2 separate regions of the Homo sapiens genome follow, and region 1 is linked to region 2. The links are contacts of gene promoters, found by promoter capture Hi-C in blood cells and fetal thymus (Javierre and others, 2016). All regions are on one chromosome and are shown on one strand. The core of a region is centred on a gene start or on the middle of the fragment in contact, and the rest is flanking DNA. Distances in the headings are between cores, read along the strand shown.

Region 1 (5,763 bases), core at 3,264-5,763, 1.5 Mb before region 2:
TCCTAAATCAGAACCTAATTAGTATGGTTTTCAGCATGGTATTTATTTTTATTTTGTTTTTTCTTTTCAGCATAATACTTTAATTTTTAAAAAAATCATTAAGGAGGCCGGGCGCAGTGGCTCACTCCTGTAATCCCAGCACTTCGGGAGGCCGAGGCAGGCAGATCACCTGAGGTAAGGAGTTCAAGACCAGCCTGGCCAACATGGTAAAACCCCATCTCTACTAAAAATACAAAAATCAGCTGGATGTGGTGGCAGGTGCTTGTAATCCCAGCTACTTGGGAGGCTGAGGCGGGAGAATCACTTGAACCCAGGAGGCAGAGGTTGCAGTGAGCCGACATTGTGCCTATGCACTCGAGCCCAGGCAACAGAACAAGACTCTGTTAAAAAAAAAAAAAAAAAAAAATTAAGATTGTGAAAACAATACATAGAACACACTGCTGAAACACTTCACCCAGACAAAGTTTAACTCTACGGCACACTTTGTATTTGGAAAAAACACAAAATAGACCTTCAGTAGTTAAAATAAAAAGATCATAAACTTCATTCATTTTTTTAAAGAGATGGAGTCTCACTACATTGCCCCAGCCAGTCTTGAACTCCTGGACTCAAGAGATCCTCCCGGCTCAGCCTCCCGAACTGTTGGGATTACAGGTGTGAGCTACCACACCTGGCCATAAACTTCATTCTTTAGAATAAGAACACAGCCCCGTCTCTATTTCCTTTCACTCTGTATAGAGTTCTAGAATTTTCTTTTAAGAGATAATTGTGTTGCCCAGGCTGGAGTGCAGTATTCACAGGCACGACCGCAGCTAGCACCCTATAACCTCCAACTTCTGGGCTCAAACCATCTTCCTGCCTCAGATTCCTGAGTAGCTAGGATGGGACTACAGGCATATATCACTCCATCTGCCTCACAATTCTTTCACTTCATCTTACCTGCTTTTATACCAAAATGGTTGCACGCCCTTGGAGAGAAAACTTTCAGAATCCAAGCATTATGATCACATGCCACATAAAGTTTCAGTCAACAACCGACTGCATATAAAAAGGTGGCCCCATAAGATTATAATAGAGCCAAAAAGTTCCTATTGCCTAGAGACATTGTAGTTGAATTACTTTATTTTTAACATTAATTTATAGTCGTCTAAGTATACACTGTTTATAACATCTACAGTAGTGTACAGTGATGTCTTAGGCCTTCACATTCACTCACCACTCACTCACTGACTTACCAGAGCAACTTCCAGTCCTAAAAGCTCCATTCACGGTAAGTGCCCTATACAGGTGTACCATTTCTTATCTTTTATACTGTACCTTTTCCATGTTTAGATGAAGCTTGCCCAATGCACAGCCAGCGGGCCACACGTGGCCCAGGTCAGCTTTCAGTTACACTTTTTTTTTTCTTTTTGTGAAGAATGGGGTCTCGCTTTATTGCCCAGGCAGGTCTCGAACTCCTGAGTTCAAGCTATCCTCCCACCTCTGTCTCCCTAAGAGCTGGGATTACAGGCATGAGCCACTGCACCTAGCCCCCAGGACAGCTTTGAATGAGACCCAACAGAAATTCGTTAACTTTCTTAAAACATTATGAGATTTTTTTTTTCCTCAGCTTATCAGCTATCGTTATTGTATTTTATGTGTGGCCCAAGACAATTTATCTTCTTCCAATGTGGCTCAGGGAAGCCAAAACATTGGACACCCCTGGTTTAGATACACAAGCACTTAATACTGTGTTACAACTGCCTACGGTACTCAGTAAAGTAACATGCTATATGAGTTTGTAGCCTAAGAACAATAGGCTATCCCACATAACCTAGGTGTGTAGTAGACTATACCATCTAGGCTTGTGTAAATACACTCTCTGATGTTCCCACAAGCATGAAATCGCCTAACAATGCATTTCTCAGAACATATCCCCGTCATTAAGCAACACATGACTGTATTGTGTAGGGTTCTGATTTTTATTAACTATTCTTTTACACATTTTTAGTCACCTTCCCTTCTCATACACCTCAGTAGACATTCCCAACTTCTGTTTAGACTTCCTGTATAAAAGCTACCACTCCTATCACTTACCCGCAGCAAATGAACTCACCTCCTAATTCATGACAATCATTCTTACAAACTTACCTATATTAACGACTTGTTTTGTTTTGAGATAGGATCTCCCTCTGTTGCCCAGGCTGGAGTGCAGTGGCACAATGACAGCTCACTGCAGGCTCTGACCTCCTGGTCTCAAGCAATCCTCTCACCTCAGCCTCCCGAGTAGCTGGGATGACAGGCATGCACCACCATGCCTGGATAACTTTTTCTACTTTTTGTAGAGAAGGGGTCTATGTTGCCTAGGCTGGTCTCGAACTCCTGTGCTCAAGCGATCCTTCTGCTTCAGCTTCCCAAAGTGTTGGAATTATGAGTGTGAGCCCTGCGCCTTTACATCTTTAATTCTTTTGTTCTGATCTTAGAAGAAGAGTTCTTTCCCCAACTCCAATATAAGGATAATACCTTAATTTATGCACGGTGAAGGAGGAAAGACCAAAAACAGGCAAGACTCATCAACTCATGTTCCTGCTCAGGGACTTTGCTCCGTAACTTATTTCCCACCACACTTGGATACTCAACCTCATTCTCTTGGTTTCTGCCACTCAGCCAACAAATATATTCTAGTGTCTTCCATTCTTTTTTTTTTTTAAAAAAAAGAAAAAACATTTCATATTTTACCCTTTCTATGCTCTCCCTTCCCTGCTTATACAGCAGTCAACATTCCTGCTTCTTTACCTTCCATTCATTCCATAACCCCATCTCCTAATGCTTTACGATTGTGCCTTTATCTGAAGCTATTACAAAAATTAACACAGTCATACTGTAGTACACCAAACAAGCAGAATGGGGAAATTTGATTCCACAAATACTCCAATTTTGTCTATGACTATGCCTACTGATGGAAATTTGGACTGCAAGAGAGATGTAATTATGAGTTTCTCCTTGGCTTTAAAGTGCAGAAAATTGGAAATTGGAAACAGTAAGCCTCCTAAAATTTTCACAAGTTGGGCAGGGGGTGAGTATCTTATATTTATGTGTGCAGTTATATTGCTTTAAAAAGTTTTTCCAGCCTGGGCAATATATCAAGACCTCATCTATACTAAAAATTAAAAAAAAAAAAATTAGCTAGGCATGGGTGGCATACACCTGTAGTTCCAGCTACTCAGGAGGCTGAGATGGAAAGACTGCTTAAGCCCAGGGGTTCAAGGTTGCGGTGAGCTATGATCACAACTGCACTCCAGCCTGGGCAACAGAGCAAGATCCTGTCTCCACAAAAAAAGTTTCTTATATGTATATGCTAATAGTGTTTAAAAGGAAGAAAAGTCAGGTGCGGTGGCATATGCCTGTAGTCTCAGCTACTCAGTAGGCTGAGGCAGGAGGATAGCTTGAGCCCAGGAGTTCAAGACCAGCTTGGGCAAAACAGCGAGACCCCATCTCTATTTTTTTTAAATTTTAATAAAAAGAATAATTTCTTCTTACATCTCCATTAAAGATTAGAATAGAGTCCTGGGACTGACTTTCACTCCACTTCCATAGAAGCTAATAAAAAAATTAGTGTTATAATATCTTTCATTAAAATAATCTACTATCTTAAGATAGATATCTAAGTAAAAGAGCAAGGAACTCAGGAACTAAATATCAGGTTTGAGACCTTAATTAAATTACTTAACTTTCTCACCAATAAAGCAAGGTTATACTGTACTCTACTTCACAGTTTAATTCTGAAGATTAAACAAAATAACACATAAAAGCACAACATAGTTACAGGCACATGTTTAACACTTCCCTCATCTTAGCACAGTGCCATACTCCCAATAAGCATACAACTATTAAGAAGTAAAAGTGTACCAAAAAGGAGCAATATTAAAACTGTGTGAACTATGTGAAACAGAAATTCTAACAAAAGCACCATCTATTCATACTAATAATCTTCAAATGAAAAGCTTCAATTAGAAGTGAAAGTTACTAAAAGATATTCAAGTATTTTGAACGAATTCAACTAGTAAATACACTTGGATTACATTCCCAATGATTTCCTCTGAGAGATTACATATGAGGTACAAGATTACACATGATTTAATAAAATGGACAGAGAGCACACACAAAGCTGCAGTTTCCCAGGCTGAGAAAGACAAATCTAATTTGTCCTTCCTGGGGAGGAATGTATCTTAAATGAACAAAATTTCCTTAGAATACACAAAAGTAAATCAATGTATCAAAGGGATTAGGAAAAAAGGGAGCTTTTTCTCGAAATCCAAAATAATAATACGCATGACCTAAATGAATCTTCTCCAAATATTTAGGGGGGAAACCCCACTTTAATTGTTAGAATTGGTGCAAAGCAGCTGGATTTAGTAGAACGCAGCCCATCAACTGCTAATTCTGAAAAAAAAAAAAAAAAAAAAAAAAAAATCTAGGGGTGGAGAAAGCAGGCAATCTTCCCAATAAAACAACTGCCACAAAACACTGTACATACGTAAGAACATAAACATCTGTTAAAATATCAGTTTACACTGTTCCAGCCAACTTACAGATCAAGAGGAAGTATTTAAGGTCTAAAAAATAAATTACATTCTACTTTTAGTCACATTTTGCATGGGTGGCTACTGGACACTAGGAGTTATCGACGCGGATTCAAGACAAGGAAGACTGAATAATAAATCCAGTGTTCACATTCAAATGTGGGGGAGAGAAAAGGGCAGGCTCTGAGTCCATAAAGTTCTCCACACTCTGAAAACACTGCAAAAATAGTCCACATCTAAGGACACTTACCCTTGAAACTCCTTGGAGAGTGGCTTGGGAGACTTGCTGTTCAGATTTTTGAGGGGGAGTGATTTAAGAATGCTGCAAGATTGCAACTTTCAAACACAGGAACATAATCTAAAGTGTTTTTTTCTTTCAGTAAAGATCTCTCCCTGTCCTCTTCAAACAGTTGATCAGCACTCCCATTTTCACAAAATCCCTAATTCAAGTATAGAGCCCCTCCTCTCCCACAAAAAAATCAAAGCTTTAAAGAATATGCAAATAAAACACACAGATTATTTCCAATAATCCCTAACTCCTTCCCAATTGGGAAAAGAAAGGAGAAACGAAGGAACACGAAGCAAAAACACCAAAACACTCGGGGAAGGAAGGCGGCGAGATGAGAAAGTAGGAATGGGTGGGGGGAGGAGCACGGAAAAAAGTCCAGCTGATGCTGACACTTAATTGGAAGGAGAGGATGGAAAATATCCTGAAGATACGGGCTAGAAGGAAAGGACTAGGTGGGACAGGGGCGCGATAGAGTAAGTCCACGCAAAAGGCCTACCCAAGAGGGCCACTGTGTAGAAGGGAACACCAACAGGGAGCAAGACTCCCCAAGATTACTTCAAGGCCCCAAAGCTTAAGAGACAGGGCATAGGGAGATGGGGTGCTTCTCCACTGGCAATGCAGACACCGCACCAGACGTTTCGGGAGGCAAGTCTGCCGGAAGGGGTGAGGGGTTAACTGCGGGGGTTCGCAGACGTGGAAGGGGGTGCGGCCCCCGGGGTTGCTGGAGGAGAGCAGAGAGGAGGCCCACGGCGCATACCTTGTAGTAAACATCAAACTGGATGTTCTCGGGCAAGGAGCGGATGTCTCGGCGGGAGCGGATGTAGTTGTCCACGACAGCGGAGATGGCGGTGTTATAGAGAGTCTCTGGGATCCACTCTAGTTCCACGGCCGCCATCTTCCTTCCCTCCTCCT
Region 2 (6,583 bases), core at 1,991-4,490:
ACAGACACCTAGAATACATTCTATCCAAAAATAAAATAGATCCTATAGGTCAGAGATACAATAACAAAAACTTCAGAGTACTCAATTTCAAATAAGAACTTAAAAAAAATTATCTAGAAATCCTAAGTTTATCTGTCAAAAATCATTATCAAACTATCTTACTGAAGTCTTTGGAACCTTATAGCATACAACCAATCATTTATATTCCTATTATCTAAGATTCAGTTAATACTGACTTTCACAATTTAAAGCTTCAGTAATTATATGAAAAGCTATAGTTTCTCTTTCTAAAGTAGCATTTGGTCCTAAAAGTCAAGAAAATAAGGAAGTAATCACATTGATTTGCTCACAATAAAATTGTTTGTGTAACCTTTTAGATTATGATCCCATGTCCCATAAAAGCTAAACAAGTTGGCACTTTTCTCTTATTATGTTTGACAGAACAGTATATGAGTCACTTTCCAAAAATAACTAAATTAACATATGCCTTCATAAGTTAATCAAATAGCACAAATGACAATAACAAAATACATGCCTTAAAACACACACACACACACACACACCACACACACACACACACACACACACACGGATAGTTACATTTCCAGTACTTTTAGAATCATCTGCCTATTCAATGCAAAAGACTCAACTTCAGCAGTGGCTGAAGTGACTCAAAAGTTACATCTGGCTTCTAAACTATTACACGACTTTGTTAGGAACTCTGTTTCCTGATTCCATTTTTTTAGATTAATGTAACATGCCTTCTTCGGGCCCTAACTACCTGTGAGAAATTAAGAAGAGAGGTGGTGGAAGGAGAAAGTCATTCACGCCTTAAAAACCCAGCTATAACAACATGGATAATTTAAGTAAAATAAAATAATCATGGTGAAATAAAACAATGAAGCTGAATTTTTATCTGGCCTCCTAAGTCTCCCACAAAAACAAACTTAATTTGTAATACATATGACATTCTGGGAGAAGTATACAATGTTGCTATATCATTAGTTAGAAATGGAAAGTTTCTTTCACCTGATAAGTCATGGTGAATAAGGTCAGCAAAACTGGGGTCTTCACCCCACCAAAATATCCACAATTCTCTTCTTCCAGGTCTTTGATCTCGCCGCCAAACACCAAGTACATCTGCCTTAAGGCAGCGACTAAAACTGCTCAAAATGGGGTCTTCTTCTGTCACAGGAAACAGAATAGGGGCAGAAGTTGGGCCTTGCCATACATATTTTTTCCACTTAATTCCTGTCAAGTCAGCCTGAAGGAAAGAAAGCATTAAGTTTTATTACTGCATATTCACTCAAAGTCAAAAGTACTCAATATGATGTCTCTTATTTCATTAAGACATTACAATTTTTCAATGTATGCTTGAGATATTGACTGCAAATTAGAACAAAAAAAGACTTTATAATTCAACAACCAAGAATTTTAGGGAGAAGAATACAGTTAAAAATTACCACCACCATGTCACTGAATAGCAAGCAAATATGTACTCCAAGTAGAAACAGAAGAAACTGAATGATGTTAAATATAGACACACACTTCAATATGCAAACAGAGTACATTTTTCTCTGTCCTAACTGGTCACATTTGTTCACTGGTGTCAAACTTTTAACTGAAAATCAATTATTAAAGACCCTATCATGGGTTTTTATTCCACATTTACAGAAGTAACGTCTCTAATGAAAAGACATCTGAACAAGTTCTGAAAAAATCTATGTTAATTCTTCACACACACCCCTGTCGGAAAAGTCAAATAGCTACTCACAAAGAACTGTCAGATTTGTGCTAGTCTATCTTCAAAGAACTGATCCTAAAAGTACCAAAAATAGACTGAGTTGGATAAGATAGAAATATAAAACCTGGTGTATGTCTTATTACATGTGAAGAGATGCTGATTAATGGACATTGAAAAGAAAAACATACTGTAGACGAGGATAGAGTATTAAAGATCTCAATTTAGCATGGGCGTTAAGAAATTCGACAAGAGGAATTCAGTAATTTAATCTAACTTAAAGGAGCAAAGCATAAGGTGCCAAAAATGAAACTGCTGATACATGACTGGCAGTTTACACTTGCCAACTAGTTGTGCTCCTCCCACTTAACTCACTTACCTATCATATACTCTTAATATTTCTCATAGCACAAAGGAGAAAATGAAAAAGTAAAGTCACCCAAACTTAAAGTCATTGATGAAGCTCAGCTACTGTCCCATACAGGACAAGTTATTTGCAACAGTTGGTACTTCTGAAAGCCTTAACTGTTGGATGTTACCAGACCTGGGCTAACCTACACAATGATCATCCCTACATCCCGCTTCTCTCGACTTTCCATTTCAATCAAACAAGGGAGCAGCCTGCTCAAAACATTCTGAAAAAGCAACCAAAACACAATAAATATAGAAACAGTGCAAAACCACAGCACCTCGTCCACTAGCCCCCTTCACTCTCACAAAAACATCATGTTCTAATAAAAGCAAGATGGCTAGAAATTGTCAAAAATGGCAAACTGTTTTCAAAGTTTAAAAAGAAAACATATGAAATGGCACCTACTGGCTTTTACAGAGAGATCTTAAGTCACCCAAGAAAGAAACTAACCTGGCGTTAGTTTGACTCATACAAAAAAAATGTAAAACCAAGACAGGTTTCTAGGGCTTAAGTTCTGGGGTCCTGTTTACATGGGGAAACCAAATTAAAAGGGTAAGACATAAAGGCGGTGGGGAGCAGGGGCAATAATGTAAAGTGTGAAGCAGGGATACAGGGCCAATAAGGAGAAAAGCAACAGTTAAGCAAGACAAGAGGGAAAGGTTACTGTCCTGCCAGATAAGGAGCTCAAGTTGAGGACGAGACTACGGTGAGAAGGAGAGTCCGAAACAAGACGAGAAAAAATGCCAACACTCCCCTAAACAGAGCCCGGGACCGTAGGAGAGCGAACGCCGCCTCCCGGGGCTGGCCGCGGAGCTTCGCAGGGCGCCGGCTCCGGCTGGGCCTCGCCCGGGAACTCGGGCATCTGGACCAGACCCGGCCCCCTCCCCCACGGCCCAAGGGCGCACCTCGCGGCCCCCCTCCCTCGGCGCCCGCCGGCCCCGGCACTCACCAGGCAGAAGAGGTTACAGTGACAATCTTCCAGGCTGGCCCCGTTCGGCACGAAGGAGGCACTCATCGTCCCTCACAGCAGCCGCCGCCGGCGCCACAACCCACCATCCGCCATTACCGCCGCCTCCGACCAGAGAGAGAAACACAGACACCGGGGAGGGCCGGGGGGGGGGTAGTGGTTGGGGGGGCGGTGGAAGAGGAGGCCGCCGGGCGCCCGCCCTCCCCACCCACCCCCCCGCCGCCGCCGCCGCCGCCGCCGCCGCGAGCAGCCCCCGCCGCCCGGCCGGCACCCAGCCGCCCGGGGCCGAGGGCCGGAGGCGGGAGGGCCGCGCCGCGCTCGCCTGGCGGGCCGGACTGCGGATCCCGCAGACGCTCGTCCCTCTCTGGGGGACGGAGGGGATGTGTGCCCCTACCACAAGAAAAATAATAAATTACACAATAAATAATCAAAATCAAGTCCGAGACGGCAGAGCCCAAGCCCAGGACGGTTCTCCCGGGCGGAGAGGCGCCCGCACAGGAGCGGGAAGGGCGAGAACCGGGAGAGAAGCCCAGGCCCCCGGCGCGGCAGCGGCGATGTCCTTAAGCCCAGAGTCTCCTCAGCGGCGGAGGTGGTGGCGGCGTCTGCGGGCTCAGACCATTCTCTGGCTCTGTCTTCGTGTCGTTCCTGGGCCAAGCCGGCCTAAAGTTTGCCCTCCTGTGGCCTCACCGGCTGGACGCCGTAGTCTCCCCCATTTTGTGGGCCCAGCGGGCGGTGTTTTTCCCCCTTTAATCCGAATTCACGGGTTTTCCCTTCGCTTTAATGGCGGCCACAGGGACCAGCTCGCCCTCTCTGCTCACCCATTGGCCGCCTTGAGGTCACGTGGGCCCGGGCTCGGTTGGGAGGGGGAGAGAGAAGTGAGCGAGGGAGGGCCGGGAAGCTTTCGGCGGAGGCGGTGAGCTCGGGGGACGGGGCAGCCAGCTGGTGGCCACTAACATAGCGCCATCTGCTGGGTGCCCCGGCCAGTATAAAACGACCCGGGGCCCTGGCCCTCTCTTTGCGGGGAAATTTACAGTCCAGGAAGGTTCATTTCACAAATCAGTGAGAATTACGTGGAAATCAGTTTGAGTTCTTTGGAAGAGAAAGTATTGGCAAAAATTCCAAGACATTCTCATTTATTTCGCGAGGCCGCTGGGGTGCAGGTGCAAACCTCTGGATTTGGGAGTCAGATGATCTGGATGGGGATAAGACTCCTCAACCTAAAAGTTGTGATATGAAGATATAAATTTAAGAAACAAAATATTGCCCTGTAGTTAATAGACTGGGAATTAGAGCCACACTGCCTGGGTTCCAAGCTTGAGCAAATCACTTCCTGCTCTGTGTCTTTACTCATCTGTAAAATGGGGAAAACATATCCCTTACCCCACAAGCTTATTGTAATGAGTTAATACAAATTAAGCAGGTAGCCCAGTGCCCCGCACAGATAAGCACTGTTAAGAGTTAACTATTATTGTTGTCATCATTACCTCATATAGTTATTGTGACGAGCAGGAGAACTAGTGTATGTAAAGGTCTCACTATTTTTTTGTTGTTTACTTCTGTCTCTCTAGTGCCTAAAAAAAGGTTCCTAGCACACAGTAGGTGCTTGATATTTGTATAGTTACAAATGAATGGGTGGTAAGAAGTAAGAACCAAACAAAAGGTTTATTCTCTTTCCCATAAAACACCCAGTGCTTGGATGGGTTACACTTCAATATGAGTTCAAAACAGTTTCTCTGACGGTTTTAGGATTGCAAGAAAGAAAGAAGAAGAAAAAGATGATTCAGAAGTTAGAAACATCAGTGAGTTAGGACTTACTGTAATTTTATGTATTACAGATACATAATTATGTATTATGTATTACAGATACATAATTGTATCTGTAAAATGAATGGTAGACTCTTCCATGTCACTTCTTCAGCCACGGAATGAAAAGAAGTCCTCATTTATCCACTTGTTCATCTGTGGTGGTGAAGAGCCCAGATCTGAAGCCCAAAGCCTGGAGAAAAAGTTCTGCCCCTCACTAGTTAGTCTTAGATCATATTTGACCTTAGATCAAATTAATTTTGCTTTCTCTCGGTTATTGTAAAATGGGGGTAATAAAAGTACTTTTCTTCTAAAATGACTGGTGAATGAAACAATGTAGATACAGTGCTTGCCACAGTGCTTACTTAATGTTAATTATTAATGTAATTTTAAAAATCATTGAGAACCTGCTGGCTCAATTGAGTGTGTTCCTGCTCTGTGCTAGGCCTAGGATACAAATAGGAATAAGATACCTGCCTGTCCCTCAAGATTCCTGAAGAGAGGCACTAAAGGAAACATTTCCTACAGAATAAGGTAAAATACAATGGGGGTAATTGCTTGAATAAAGTATGTACCTACTATGGCATAGTAAGTGCACTAGAAGAAGAGCATCAAACTTAGAGAAGTTGTCATAAAGTAGGTAGCATTTGAAATCAGATTTGAAGGATAAAATGAATTCTTATAAAGCCCTTTGAAGCAGTTAAATCTTATTAAACCTAATTCGAACCCAAAGTCCACATATCAAAGTCAATTATGCAACCAGGACTAATTCAATCCAGGAGCTCAAATCAACTAAGGTTGGCATCCTTTATAACCGAGTGCCAGCACCAGGAGACAGCAATCCCCAGATCCAATGAGGTAAGCGCTCCTCTGCCCATTTCCCGTTCCCTGAAAAACTCCTCAGATCTTTGTTCCGCTGCTTTCCTCAGGCTGAAATGCCCTCCTCACATCTAAAGGGGTCTCCATTCTCCTTAGAAGTCTTGCCCTCCCATTGCCCCCACCCCCTGACTTGAGCACCATCCTCAGGATTCCAATGGCAGGTAGAATATACCTGAAACCTACCAGTAGGAGGTAACATTTGATTGACCTTTCTGTTTGAATGTCAATCTTTTCAAAAAGAAGAGGGAGACAAGGAGACAGAAGCGAAGAAGGGAGGAAGACCCAGAAGAAAAAGTCTGATGGAGGATCGCAGAAGGGAGCAGGAGAGAGAGAGAAAGACAGGACTGAGAGAATGGAGAAGCAGATTAGAATGGGGGGGATCCCAGTTGTGAGGGGAATGGAATCATTGGGAGAAGGGAAAGAGAAGAAATAAATATTTTCAGCCCACAAAGAACGTATCAGTAACCACTTACATTCGGTAAAAATGACATTTTGTGTGATTTAAAGAGTAATGGAGGCCGGGTGCAGTGGCTCACGCCTGTAATCCCAGCACTTTGGGAGGCCGAGGCGGGCAGATCATGAGGCCAGGAGATCAAGACCATCCTGGCTAACACGGTGAAACCCTGTCTCTACTAAAAACACAAAAAGGCGGGCGCCTGTAGTCTCAGCTACTCGGGAGGCTGAGGCAGGAGAATGGCGTGAACCCGGGAGGCGGAGCTTGCAGTGAGCTGAGATCGCGCCACTGCACACCAGCCTGGGCGACAGAGTGAGACTCCGTTCT

What was found. The method cuts DNA at HindIII sites, captures the fragments that hold promoters and counts their contacts. A CHiCAGO score of 5 or more calls a contact.
Region 1: a contact is called between a fragment that was not itself captured here and the fragment with the promoter of MED13 in region 2, in 1 of 17 cell types (total B cells). The highest score is 5.2, in total B cells.

The regions. Positions count from the first base shown.
Region 1 is chr17:60,520,186-60,525,948 of GRCh38, forward strand. It overlaps APPBP2 (amyloid beta precursor protein binding protein 2), which reads right to left. Exons shown (of 13, transcript NM_006380.5): 1 at 5,609-5,763. The coding sequence starts at 5,746. It also overlaps the pseudogene LOC107984970. Among named protein-coding and RNA genes, the nearest start is that of APPBP2, 3.2 kb to the right of the region's middle. RefSeq lists enhancers at 4,968-5,676, 5,397-5,666 and a silencer at 5,747-5,763. The HindIII fragment of the contact is 1,064 bases long and covers 3,982-5,045 here.
Region 2 is chr17:62,062,038-62,068,620 of GRCh38, forward strand. It overlaps MED13 (mediator complex subunit 13), which reads right to left and starts at 3,241. Exons shown (of 30, transcript NM_005121.3): 1 at 3,103-3,241; 2 at 1,030-1,264. The coding sequence starts at 3,168. RefSeq lists enhancers at 2,632-2,731, 3,642-3,901 and silencers at 2,882-3,161, 3,952-4,031. The HindIII fragment of the contact is 3,767 bases long and covers 250-4,016 here.